Linked DNA regions of Homo sapiens: all the other regions are linked to region 1. Evidence: promoter capture Hi-C in human tissues and cell types (Jung and others, 2019). All regions are on one chromosome and are shown on one strand. The core of a region is centred on a gene start or on the middle of the fragment in contact, and the rest is flanking DNA. Distances in the headings are between cores, read along the strand shown. Region 1 holds the start of SLITRK5 (SLIT and NTRK like family member 5). Region 2 overlaps MIR4500HG (MIR4500 host gene). Region 3 overlaps MIR4500HG (MIR4500 host gene).

What was found. Contacts are between HindIII fragments. The study calls those that stand out against the background at their distance.
Region 2: a contact is called between a fragment that was not itself captured here and the fragment with the promoter of SLITRK5 in region 1, in 4 of the 25 tissues and cell types used here (dorsolateral prefrontal cortex, heart left ventricle, mesenchymal stem cells and 1 more).
Region 3: a fragment that was not itself captured here is called in contact with the fragment with the promoter of SLITRK5 in region 1 in 3 of the 25 tissues and cell types used here (dorsolateral prefrontal cortex, hippocampus and lymphoblastoid cells).

Annotation. Positions count from the first base shown.
Region 1 is chr13:87,669,548-87,673,702 of GRCh38, reverse strand. SLITRK5 (SLIT and NTRK like family member 5) reads right to left here and starts at 2,332. Exons shown (of 2, transcript NM_001384609.1): 1 at 1,494-2,332. It overlaps LOC124900338 (formin-like protein 5), which reads left to right and starts at 1,336. Exons shown (of 2, transcript XM_047430855.1): 1 at 1,336-2,867. The coding sequence starts at 1,398. The coding sequence ends at 1,922. It overlaps MIR4500HG (MIR4500 host gene), which reads left to right and starts at 2,740. Exons shown (of 6, transcript NR_033829.1): 1 at 2,740-2,867. RefSeq lists an enhancer at 2,104-2,605. The HindIII fragment of the contact is 26,915 bases long and covers 1-4,155 here.
Region 2 is chr13:87,564,102-87,568,256 of GRCh38, reverse strand. All of the region lies in intron 1 of MIR4500HG (MIR4500 host gene), which reads left to right. Among named protein-coding and RNA genes, the nearest start is that of MIR4500, 53 kb to the left of the region's middle. The HindIII fragment of the contact is 4,943 bases long and covers 1-4,155 here.
Region 3 is chr13:87,599,747-87,603,901 of GRCh38, reverse strand. All of the region lies in intron 1 of MIR4500HG (MIR4500 host gene), which reads left to right. Among named protein-coding and RNA genes, the nearest start is that of MIR4500, 17 kb to the left of the region's middle. The HindIII fragment of the contact is 6,087 bases long and covers 1-4,155 here.

The DNA of each region.
Region 1 (4,155 bases), core at 1,083-3,582:
GTCGAGATGAATTGGAACCACAGTGCATAAACCTCGCAAGTATCCCCGACCTCCCAACGCAACGGTAAACGTCTCCCGGCTTAAAAGCGGCAAAAACATCCCCACCCCAGTGAAAGCAAAACGTTTACCTTGAAATTTCAGTTCTCCGCTGGATCAAATCCGCACATCCATTCAGCGAGGTTGGGTCCCCTCCCCCTCCCTCCCTGTGCTTCCCCGCCCCCATTCACCTCCCACCCCATCTGAAAGCCCATTGCAAATTCAGTCCAGCCAGTATTAAACTCCAGCGTTTACAACTTTAATTCAGTTCTAGTTAGCAAGGGTCGAAGAGCTTCCTCTCAACCCACTCCCTTCCCCCTCCTCCTTGCTAGCAAAGGAGACCAAAAATTTGAGAAAATAAAGTTGAATGAGCCTGGGGAGGCTGACATTCTGACGGGGAAACGCACCTCCGATGCAAATTCGCGGGTGCGCTGAACATTCTCAGATTCTCAGATTTTTTTTTTTCCTGGAGGGCGGGGGCGGGGGAACTATTCATTTTCTCCCAAAGAATTTAGATACTGGATCACCGCCCTGTACGTCCCTGCAGTAAGCAGCATGGAGCCTCTCGGACTGGAGCCCAGCACCCAGGCCGCACCGGAGGCTCCGGGCACAGCTGCTCAAGCAGCAGCCCAGGCAGAAGCACCCGGAGTTCCAGGACGCGAGGCTCCCCCTCCCCCACCCCGCCCCAAAGAGAAGGAAGGGAAAACGGAGGAAGAAGGGGAGGGAGGAGAGGGAAGGAAAACCACCCCGCCACATAGACACACACACACACACACACACACACACACACACACACACACACACACACACACCTCTTTTGCAAAGTAAACGATAGACTTACCCAGTCTCACATCTCCAAGGCCCAGTCATCATAGCCACCCTTTAAAAACACACACATACACAAAAACCCTCTTTGGGGTATGCACTAGGTTTCTCAAGCCCAGGCAGGGCGAGGAGACTGCGAGCAGCGCAGTCCCAGAGGCTGGAGGAAAGAGGCGCCCGGACGCCTCCAGCCTGGGGCCGCCGCCGCGGTGGCGACCGCGGGTTCCGGGGCTCCCCAAAAGGCTCTCCCCGGTGCTCTCCGCGGTAGTCGGAGCGGGCAGCAGGGTTGGGGGGTGGAGAGCGGGGGGCGTTCTGCAGCGGCGGGATAGGGAGGCGGCGGGAGGGGGCGGCGGAGGTCCGGCTGGAGAGGCGCCTCGCGGTAGGGGCCGGGAGCCGGAGCCGGGCGGGGCGGGGAGGGGGAGCTGCTGGGAGGGGAGGCACGGAGCGGGAGGAGGGGGACGCGGAGAAGACTGCCTGGCCCCGCCGGCCCCGCCAACGTGACGGTCAGCCCCGCCGAGCGCTCGCACCCGCTCACACTCATGATCACTCGCACACTCGCTCCAATACGTGTTAAGGCGCGATCGCGGGGTCCCTGGCAGCCTTCGCTGCACCCTCCCCCCCACAGGGGTACTCACAGTTGCCATCTGCATAGGGGGCAACTTTCTCCGACCCAGCTGTGGCCGCCGCCCCCTCCAGCCTCCTCTGGCTCCTCGCACCCTCCGGCCTGGGTTCGCGCCGGCCGGCCCTCCCCTCCCCCCTCGGCTCTCCTCCTCGCCGTCTTCACCACATTCCCCCCTGGTCAGTGGCGCACGCCGGGGGACGAGCCAGAGGGAGCGGGTCGCGGGGGTGTGCATGCATCTCCCGCCTTCTTCTTGCAGCGCACACTGTACATGGTAGTGAGGGGGCGAGCAAAGGTGGCACCGGCCCCTCGGCTGCTCCAGCGAAGGCGGCGGCTGCAGCTCCTGCGCTGTCCTCCGCCCCCCAGCGCAGCGGCGACCACCGCGCTGGGATCCCGCCGACGCTGTCTCCGCGCCGAGCCCGCCGCCGCCGCGGCCCCTAATTAGTATTTGAGAGGCTCTTGCATCCCTTTGGCAGTTTCATCCTCACGGTGTTTGCAGGGTTTTTTTCTGTATCCCTTCCCCAGATGCGGCGCACAATCGTCATTAGTTGGAACTCTCTATCACCGACATCCTTTGGGGTTTCTGGGGGAAGGGGGGGGCGGGCAGCAACCGCGTCGTTCTATGCCTGTGGCTTGTCCTGGCAGCCCGGTGGCTCTAAAAAAAACTCCGAGAAAGTTGCGTCTTCCTCCCGGGCGCCGAGGAGGTGGCAACGCGGTAAGCAACACCGGGTCTCTGAGACAGCTGCTCCGGAGCGGGTGCAGGGCCCAGTCCAGTGCACTTGTTTATTGTCGCGCCTCTGGTGCGAGCCAAGCTGCAGCAGACATGATGGGCCCGGGGCGAAGCGGGCGCTCGGTGGCCGATAGATGGCAGCCGAGGGCGAAGGCGTCCCTGGGCTAGGGCGGCGCAACCGGGGCCCCCTTGGATGTCACATTCGTAGGAAGAGAGAGAAGTCTTGGACCATGTGTGTAATTCGAGCGTGGGACTGTGCAATTCTCGGATTGGGAAAGGGAGGAGTGGAAATAACCCCGGCAGTGCCAGGCTTGCTGGTGGTCAGGAACAGATGATTCCAGCCCTGTGCTGATCGCCTGCCTTCCTCCTGCCATTCAGAATGCTGCTGTCTCGTGTACTTACTGTTAAGGATCCTGGAAAAGGGAGTGGTTCCTCCTAGCTGCAAACAAGGGCGCTACTTTTCTTTTCTCTTTAATAGAATTACGTTTTATAGGTGTGTCTAGGCAACACAAGGGAATGTGAAAGACTTTCAGAGGGAATGTTTGTGAATACATCTGGTGTGTACTAAAAAGCTGGAAAACCCCTAAGTAAATGCAATATCGATAGAAAGCGAGTTTCTTGAAGAGTCATCTGCTAAACTCCACTAGAGTCATCTCTACAGTAAGTATTCTTGGGTCTTTCCATGAAACCAGACACTTCCATCCCCAAAAAGGGGTCTTTACTTTCATAAGACATGTTTTCAATATTTGTAATATTAGACCTGCCGTTCATCCCGGGTATAAGAGAAAAGTTGATAATAGTAAGTGACCCAGTGCAGGCTGAGTGCACATGTGCCTGTTCCTTTGATAACTATGTAGTTAGTTTCTCCATGTAAATATATTTTACCCACTTTATTTTGCAATTAATTACGTCTTAATTATTATTGATATTGTTTTATTCTTAGTAATATTTGGGATAATACTGTGTTATAATCTGGTTAATCATATGTTTAATATTGATATAGAGTCTGATAATATGTCTATGTTCTGAGATGTATATATATCTCAGGTGATGAACATTGCAGTCTCCTGAGGTACTGCAATCTTTTTTGAACTTTCCCCTGCGTATGTTGTGTGAATATATATATTTTTACTTTATACCATAAAAACTTTATTTGGAAGCAATTTTGTTTAAGTATGGGTTATATTCAAGGGAGAGGAAGGAAAGAAGTAATATGTAATTTCAGACAATAAAAACAAAATCTTGTAATGAACGTTTCATTAAATTTAGAAGCATTTGACCTAGGAATGATAGCCACTAGCTGTAGATACATTGCATCAACAAATATAACTTACACGTCATCCACAAAAGGCTTATTTCTGTATTTTTTATTCAGTCATTAACTTTTAACATTATATAAACATTTCAGAAAATTTATTTTAAGTTTAAAATTACTTTTATATTTTCAAAATGAAATGAAATATTTAAATTTAAAATTATATAGGAATTACAGCCAGAAGCCTTTGGAATATAAATATTGAGTCCTATCAGAAACATAATTTTCAATATCGATTAACTTTGTAGAAGTTCTTAAAGGTCCTAAATTGTCTTAATCGATTATTGATTTTTTCAAAATAGCTGAAATAAAGCTGTTATATTTTATCACTGTTCTAAATCTTTATAATTTCATTCAATAGCAAAGTTTAATTCATGGTTTTGTATTATTTTTATTTTAAATATTTATTGTTCTAATTAAAGGAAATATTATTCAACTAAGAAGTATTAAATATGTTTGGAATTAGTTTAGGTTACAGTTTTGTTAGAAACACTTATGCTAATAATCTAGTTTACCTCTTGTGGTTCAAATAAGTAAATGATGAAAACTTTCTGCCATTAACTCAACATTAAGGATGGTCCCGGAAGCCACCATTACCTTTTGCCACTAGGTGTCTCTATAAGATGCTCTGCA
Region 2 (4,155 bases), core at 846-3,345, 110 kb after region 1:
TCTTTGAATAAGCTGATATGGTGATATGACATGTTTTACAAGAAGTAGGAAAACTTATCCTGAAAGTGAAATCAGGTGGCAAATGTTGGCACAGTTAGTTAACTTGTTATGCTTCCTGTAACATGGATGAATGATTTAGAGACATGGGTAAGCAATACAGGCACATTTTCTCTTATTTAGCTTTCATATCTTTAAAATTGAAGACTGAAATAATATTCATAAGCCTACAACCTGAGACTGAGCTAACATTGAAGAAATAGGCCCAAAAGAGAACTCTTGGTCATGTACAAGATCAGTGCTCCAGTTCCATTTGGAGAAGTTGTTAGAAGCTTTCCATAGAAGCTGGTGCATTTCAGGAATTTAATGTGCATTAATGATTTAATGAGGGTGGTAATGAAGTTTTTCATTCTTGTCAAGGAAAAAACTAGAAGGAAAAAGAAATGTCAATAGCTTTTTATCTTTTTACCTCCCAATAATTGGTATATTGTTTTTGGTATTTCCTTTTAAGCTCATTTCCGGATAAAACTAAATAACAAATATGTGTGTGATGTGCACTGAGTAGGTGTACATGTGTTTAATAGAATGTTTTTCTTCACTGTTGAAAGTGGTGTTTGAGTCTCCTATTATATTGTTGTTTATTTCTTCCTTTAGTTCTGCCAATGTTTGTATTATATTCTTAGGTGTTATAATGTTGGGTCCAAATATATTTTTTAATTGTTACATGTTCCTGGTGAATCAGCCCTTTTTTCATTATATACTTCCTTATTTGTCTTTTGTGACAGCTTTTTACTTAAAGTCTATTTTGTCTGATACAGTAATAGCCACTTCTGCTCTTTTTTTTAGTTACCATTTGCATGGACTGTCTTTTTTAATCCCTTTGCTTTCAGTCTATGAGTATCTTTAAACCTAAGAGGATTTTTTTGTAGACAACATTACATAGTTGTTTTTTTTTCTTTTATATTCTCATTCTGACATTATTTTTTGTCTTTCGATTGAGGAGTTTAATCTCTTCACATTTAAAGTAACTATTGATAAGGAAAGATTTACTATTGCCATTTTGTTAATAGTTTTATGTTAATCTTGTAGTTGGCCATCTTTTCCTTTCTTGCTGTTTTCCTTTGTATTGGCTGATGTTTTATACTGATATGCTTTGATGTCTTTCTTTTTTATTTTGTATATCTTCTATACATATTTTATTTCTCGTTATCATGAAACTCAAAATATATTTATAAAAGCCTATTTTAAGCTGATAACAACTTAAGATTCATCACATACCGAAGACAGTCTTACTTATCTTCCTCACCCTACTTTACACTATTTTTGTAGTTTCCATCTATTTATTTTGTATATGTAGTATCATATTTATTGTTAAAGTTTTAAAAAAATTTGTCTTTTAACTTTTGTACAATGATTAAAAGTAATTTACCATTATATTATTCTATATACAGAACCTATACATTTGTCTTTACTAATGAATATTAGTAAGAAATACGATACTCATTTAAAAAGTAAATATATAGAAAATATTTTATGCTACCACCTTGCCGTATATCATCCTTTCATTTTAACATGAAAAAATCCCTTTAGTATTTCTTGTAAGGCATGTCTAGTGATAATCAACTTTCTTCACTTTTGTTTGTCTGGCAAATACTTTTTCTCTCCTTCATTTTCAAAAGACAGTTTTGCCTGATATAGTATTATTGATTAGCAGTTTTACGTTTTCTGTCAGCACTTCAAATACATAATCTATTCCTTTCTAGTGTGAAATATTCTTTCTGAGAAATCTGTTGATAGTCTTACAGAGATTACTTGGTGCATGACAAATCATTTCTTTCTTGCTGCTTTAAAATTCATCTTTTGACTTTTGACAATTTGATTATAATGTATCTTTATGTGCATTTATTTGGGTTCATTTGATTTTGCAATTTTTAGGTCTAGATGTCTATTTTCTTCTCCAGATTTGGGAAGTTTTCAGTCATTATTTATTTAAATTATCTGTCTGTTTCTTTCTTGCTTCCTTCTCCTGAAAATCCTATAATGTTAACTTGATCATGCCCCATAAGTTACTTAAGTTTTCTTCTTTTTAATTTTTTTTTTACCTGTTGCTCTTTTGACCGAATAATTTCAAATGACCTAGCTTTGTGTTCACTGATCCTTTATTTGCTTGATATAATCTGCTCTTGAATCTTTCAGGTGATTTTTGTAGTTCATTTATTGTATTCTTCACCTCTATTATTTGTTTGCTCCTTTATTTGTTTATTATTATTATTATTATTGTTTGGAGACAGAGTATCACTCTGGTACCCAGGCTGAAATTCAGTGACAAGATCTCAGTTCACTGTGAGCTTTGCCTCCTGGTTTCAAGCAATTCTCCTGCCTCAGCCTCCTGAGTACATGGAATCACAGATGTGCACCACCAAGCCCAGGTAATTTTTGTATTTTTAGTAGATACTGGGTTTCACTATTATAGCCAGGCTGATCTTGAACTCGATGTTGGCAATGCTGGTCTGGCCTCAAGTGACCAGCCTACTGTGGTCTTCCAAAGCAATGGTATTGCATGTCTGAGCCACCGCACTGGCCCTGCTTGTTCCTTTAAAAAAAATGTTTTCTATCTCTTTGTTGAAATTCTGAATTTGTTCATGTATTGTTTTCCTGACATCACTGAGCGTCTTTATTACTGTTAATTTGAATTCTTTGCCAGGTAAATTGTACATCTCCATTTCATTGGGGTTGGTGTCAGGAGATTTACCTTGCTTTTTTACTCGAAGCATATTAGCCTATTTCTTCATCTTCATTGATTTTTTGTGTTGGTGTCTCTACATTAGACAAAGAAGCCACATATCCCAATCTTGATGGACTGGTCTTGTATAGGTGAAGACTCCTATCAATCAGCCCAGCCAGAGATTCTGAGGGCCTCTCAAATCTCTGTCCTACTCCAATCCCATTTCGTTGTTCTTTGCAGGCCCTAGGTGTACAGGGTAAGCTAGGTCCTATCTGTACAATGGGATAGTAAGATAAAAGCAAGTTCCTTAGGCAGCTACCAGAAATTTTGGATCATTGGATGCACCATTCAACTCTTCACTTGCCCAGAGAGAAGCTGAGAGCTGGGTTTTTTTTTTATTCTCTTTGTGCTGATCCTAGGGGGAGAAGTTGTGGTGAATGATAGCTCACACCTCATTTCTGTTCTACCCCAGGCAGCTAGTTAATGCCAGATTCATCAGTACTCTTTGATAGGCAGGATATAAGCCAGTTCTTTGGGTCCCTCTGGAGGAGCTGGGGCATTGGACACATGGACCTACTCTCCTCCCCAGGGGAGAAGCTGGAAGCTAGGAATATTCTTCCATTTACTCTGTGCTGAGCTGGGAGGAAGAGCTATGGTGACTGCCAGCACAAGCCACCATCTATTTTTTCTTCAATGTGGCTTGACTGTGCTGGTCTCATCAGCATTCCAAGCCTCACAAAACAAAAGCCAGTCCTCCAGGAAGCTTCCTGCAAGAATCTATGGCATTGGATGTATGGACCAACTCTTTCCCTCCCCTGAGAGAAGCTGGGAATGAGGGGATGTCTTTCCAATTTTATGATTCTATGCTTGGGACAGTGATTCCAGTGAAAGGGTGTTCGTAGTCTCCCCACTGGCTTTGATAAATCTGGTCCTGTTCAGCTGGGGAAAGAGCCTTTCAATTATCTTCAGGATTTCTTAGGAAAACATTTCTGTGTTCATTGCTGAATCAGTGTAGTGGTGGAGGAAAGGATGTTCCAGGTTTGCCCCCACCACTTGTTCCCAACTTCACTCCCACTTTTGGACTTCTTAGGTCTAGAAACTGTGTTCTATTTATTAAATGTATTCTATAGTGTTTGTAAATAAAAAAAGTGAAGATATTGACTCTGAAATGGTATATCTACAACTTTTCACAATTGATCTTCTCATGAAAATATTAGCAAAATCATGTAGTTACTTTGTTCATGTGTGCATATGAGTGTTTTCACTGTAAAATATAGTGTGAATATTTTTTACATGTTATGCTATGATCTAAATGGTTGTGCCTTCTAAAAATACAGGTACTGAAACTTAATCTCCAGTTCCATCATACTGGGAGATAAGGGATGTGGGAGGGATAAGGGATAAGGTAATGGAATCAGTGTCCTTATAAAAGA
Region 3 (4,155 bases), core at 1,000-3,499, 70 kb after region 1:
TTAGAGAGGGTGACATATGTCCTGATGAATTACATGTGAATGTGAAAAAAGAGAGTATTCAAAATGACTCCAGGCTATTTTGGCCTACACCACTGGAAGAAAGAGAGGAGGAAAATTGAGACAGAGAGACAAGACAAATTTTAAAAAATGCTTTCCTGAGAAAGTAAGAGGAGTACAGGGACGGAGAATTGCAAGAGATGCAAGTCAAGTATATATATATATATATATGTAGCTTCAAAGAAATAACACTGCTTTTATGATGATGTAAATGTTGATGGAGATGAACAAAATAAATAAATTCTGAAGACAACCTAAGTGTGTGTGTCTGTGTGTGTATATATTTATATATATATATAAATATATACACACACAATATATATACACACACACACACACACACACACACACACATAGGTATCAAAAATGTGAAGATCTTAACAACACCCCAAATTAAAGATAATTTTACATGCAAAGAAGTGTCCATTACAAAAAACACAAGAATCAATGGAATCAAGAAGGATATTCTTATAAAACCTTAGGTAAGATAAATAATAGTTGATAAGTTTTACTACATTACAGTTACAAAATTGTTTATTGAAAGATTCAGCTGATAAAATTAAAAGCTACAATTTATAAAACATATTGGCAACCCATATATCTGAAAGATATCCAAAATATGCAAACTACTTCTATAAATTAATACCCAAAATAGAACTAAATACTTAAGAAGAAATTTGAAAGAGGAGGAATAAAAGTAGTGATTGAACATATGAATAAATGAAATCAAGCCTCGTTACTCATAGGGAAATATAAATTAAGACCTTCATGAAAAATTATTTCCTAATTATCCCAGTGTCAAAATTTAGAACATCTGATTATATCAAGTGCTGGAAAGCCTACATATCAATTTTTACTTTCATACATGACTGGAAAGAGCATGTATCAGTGCAACCATTATTTTAAAATGTTTTGAAATTACTTCATTTCTCCATTATTAAATTTTTTGTTACACTTTAATTATCAGTCTTTCAACGGTTTCCTGGAAATTCCGAAATGTATTTGTAACAATATACTCTATCTAAAATTATAAATTTTACTATGTCCCAGACAATAAATGTAGAATGGACAAATCATATTTACTCCAGCCTTTTTAGATTGTTTTCATATGTTAAAATCCTAACAATTCATGTTATAAAACTCACAAACATTGTTACTGTTGTTACTTCAAACATTTTCACTCCCATGCTCACATACCTGCATGCACGCATACACATTTATGTTTTTTTCTCTGCTGTTTATTTCTAATTAGAATTCTAACTGGTATCATTTCCTTCAGAGTGAAGAACTTTATTTAGTTGTTCTTGTAATGCAGGTGTGCTGGTGATGATTTCTTTTAGCTTTTTTTTTTTTTTTGAGGTACAGGTTGTTTTGCCTTAATTGAAGATTTCTTTCATCCAGTGTAACAGTCTAGATTGACAGGGTGTTTTTCTGTTATTGTTCTTGTTTTTATCCATTTCAGTAATTTTAAAATGGGGTAAAAATCTATAAAATATCTCAAGGTTCTGTCATTTGGAATATAAAAATCTATATTTGGATGAACAGGAGATTATAGGATTCCAAATATATTTAATTAAATGATGGCTCAAATACTGAAACCTGCTGAGTAGATAGTTGTTCTTTCCTTGTTGGTCCTCAATAGAAAACCGGATGTTGTTGTTGTTGTTGTTCTTTTTGCTACTTTATAAACTGTATGATCTTTAACTGTGTTGCAATTAATATTTTATATTGTTTCATGTTTCATTTTATAGAGCTCTGTATCATAAATTCTTTCTTAATAATAATATTATTGAATGTAAGATTTAAACTTTTAAAACAATTATTATATAGCATGGCAGGCAGAATAATTTCTTCTCAAAAAAAAAGTCCCCTTATTAATACCTGGAGTTTGTGAATATGTTTATTTATATGGCAAATGAGGCTTCACAGATGAGATCAAAGCACAGATTGAGATGAAGAGATTATCCTGGATCATTAGGCTGGAGCTACTGTAACCACCAGGGATTCAATAAATGAAAGACAGAGTCAGGAGGATCAGAGTCAGCGAGATTTGAAGATGATGCTTCTCTGCTGGCTTTAAGGATGTAGGAAGGGGCCTTGAACTAAGAAATTCAAGAGAGGCCTGTAGAAGATGGAAACTATGAAAGAGTGGATTCTCCAGTAAAACCTCTAAAAGAAATGCAGACCTGTCAACATCTGCACTTCAGCCCAGTGAAACCCATTTCAGACTTTATACCTCCCAAATTGTGGAATAATGACTTTATTTCATTTTAATCCACTAAATTTGCACATATTAATCTTTTTGAGCTCTGGTGTGGTGAGCATATAAGAAGGGAATGTGAAAAGAGAGTGGAAAAGAGACTTTCAGGGAGGTTTGCAAAAACAGTATTAGGATTGCCTTGACTTTCTCTTCACTGAGCATTAGCATTTTATCCAATTTGTCCACAAAAAGGGAATATATATACACACATATACACATATACACACAAATATATGTGTATATATATACACACACACATAATTTGTTTTTTAAAAAGAACATATTTTTTAAAAAAGGTTGAATATATATGTATATATGTGTGTTATTCTCTCTATATACATATACGTATAATTATTTTTTAAATAGCACATATAATTCATTTTTTAAAAAAGTTTAAATATATGTCTGTGTGTGTGTCTGTGTGTGCATGCGTTCATGCGTGTGTATAGGGTTGACCCTTGAACGTGTGGGTTTGAACTGCACGGGTTCTCTTATACTGAGATTTTCTCTCTCTTCGGCTACAGCTCTGATATAGCAAGACCAAACCATCATCTTTCTCCTCCTTCTCAACTCAACGTGAAGACAACAAGAATGAAGACTTTTGATGATCCACTTCCACTTAATGACTAGTACATATATTTTCTCATCCTTATGATTTTCTGAACCCCATTTTCCCCTAGCTTACTTATGCTGTATTGTAAGAATATAGCATATAATACACATGACATACAAAATATGTGTTAACAGAATGTTTATGTTGTCAGGTCAGCTGTAGGCTATTAGAAGTTAAGCTTTGCGGCAGCCTAAGTTATCCATGAATTTTTGACTTCATGGAGGTTGATACCCTTACCTCCAACATTGTTCAAGTATCAACTGTATGCAATACATATACCCCCCTCACCCTTCCAAAACTCACATTCTGCAAAATTGGCAGGGTGTATGGGCAGGCTGGAAACTTATACTGGATTTCTATGTTGCAATCCTGAGGCAGTTTCTTTTTTTTCCAGGAAACCTCAAATGTTTTTGCTCGTAACTTCTTCATCTTATTGGAACAGGCCCACTCAAATTATTGAAGTTAATTCAAATTTTTGAAAAGTTTAAATTTTATTTATGACTTATTTTAAAAATTGTTTGATAACTAAAAAAAGTATTTGTGGTGTAAAACATGATGTTTTGAAGTATATATACAATATGGGATGGTTAAATATAGCTAAATAATAAATGCTTTATCTCACATAGTTATTATTTTCACCATAAGAACATATAACATCCACCCTCTTTACATTTTCAAGAATACAATATATTAACTTTTATTATAGTCACCTTGCTGTACAACAGACTCCTTGAAATTGATTTTTCCCGTCTAACTATATTTACATATACTTTGGCCAATGTCTCCCCAAATCCCAAATCCTCCTAACCACCCCAGTTTCTAGTAATCACCATTTTGCTTTTTACCTCTATGTGATTAATGATTAATGATTCTAGATGCCATATTAGTCAGAGTTCTCCAGAGGGACAGAACTCATAGGATATATGTGTAAGTGAAAGGGAGTTTCTATATATAAAATATATATGTGTATATATATAAATATATTTACTATATTATATATTATATAACATATACTATACAACATAAATATATAGTGTATATATAGTATATAGTATATATAAGCTTGCTAATTTATTGTAGTTCCATTTGTCTATGTTTTCTTATTAAAATATGCAAAACACATATAAGTATGTATACTATATATACTAGTATGTATAGTACTAAGACTAGTATGTTGTACTAGTATGTAGTATATATAGTATACATATGAGATATATATATACTA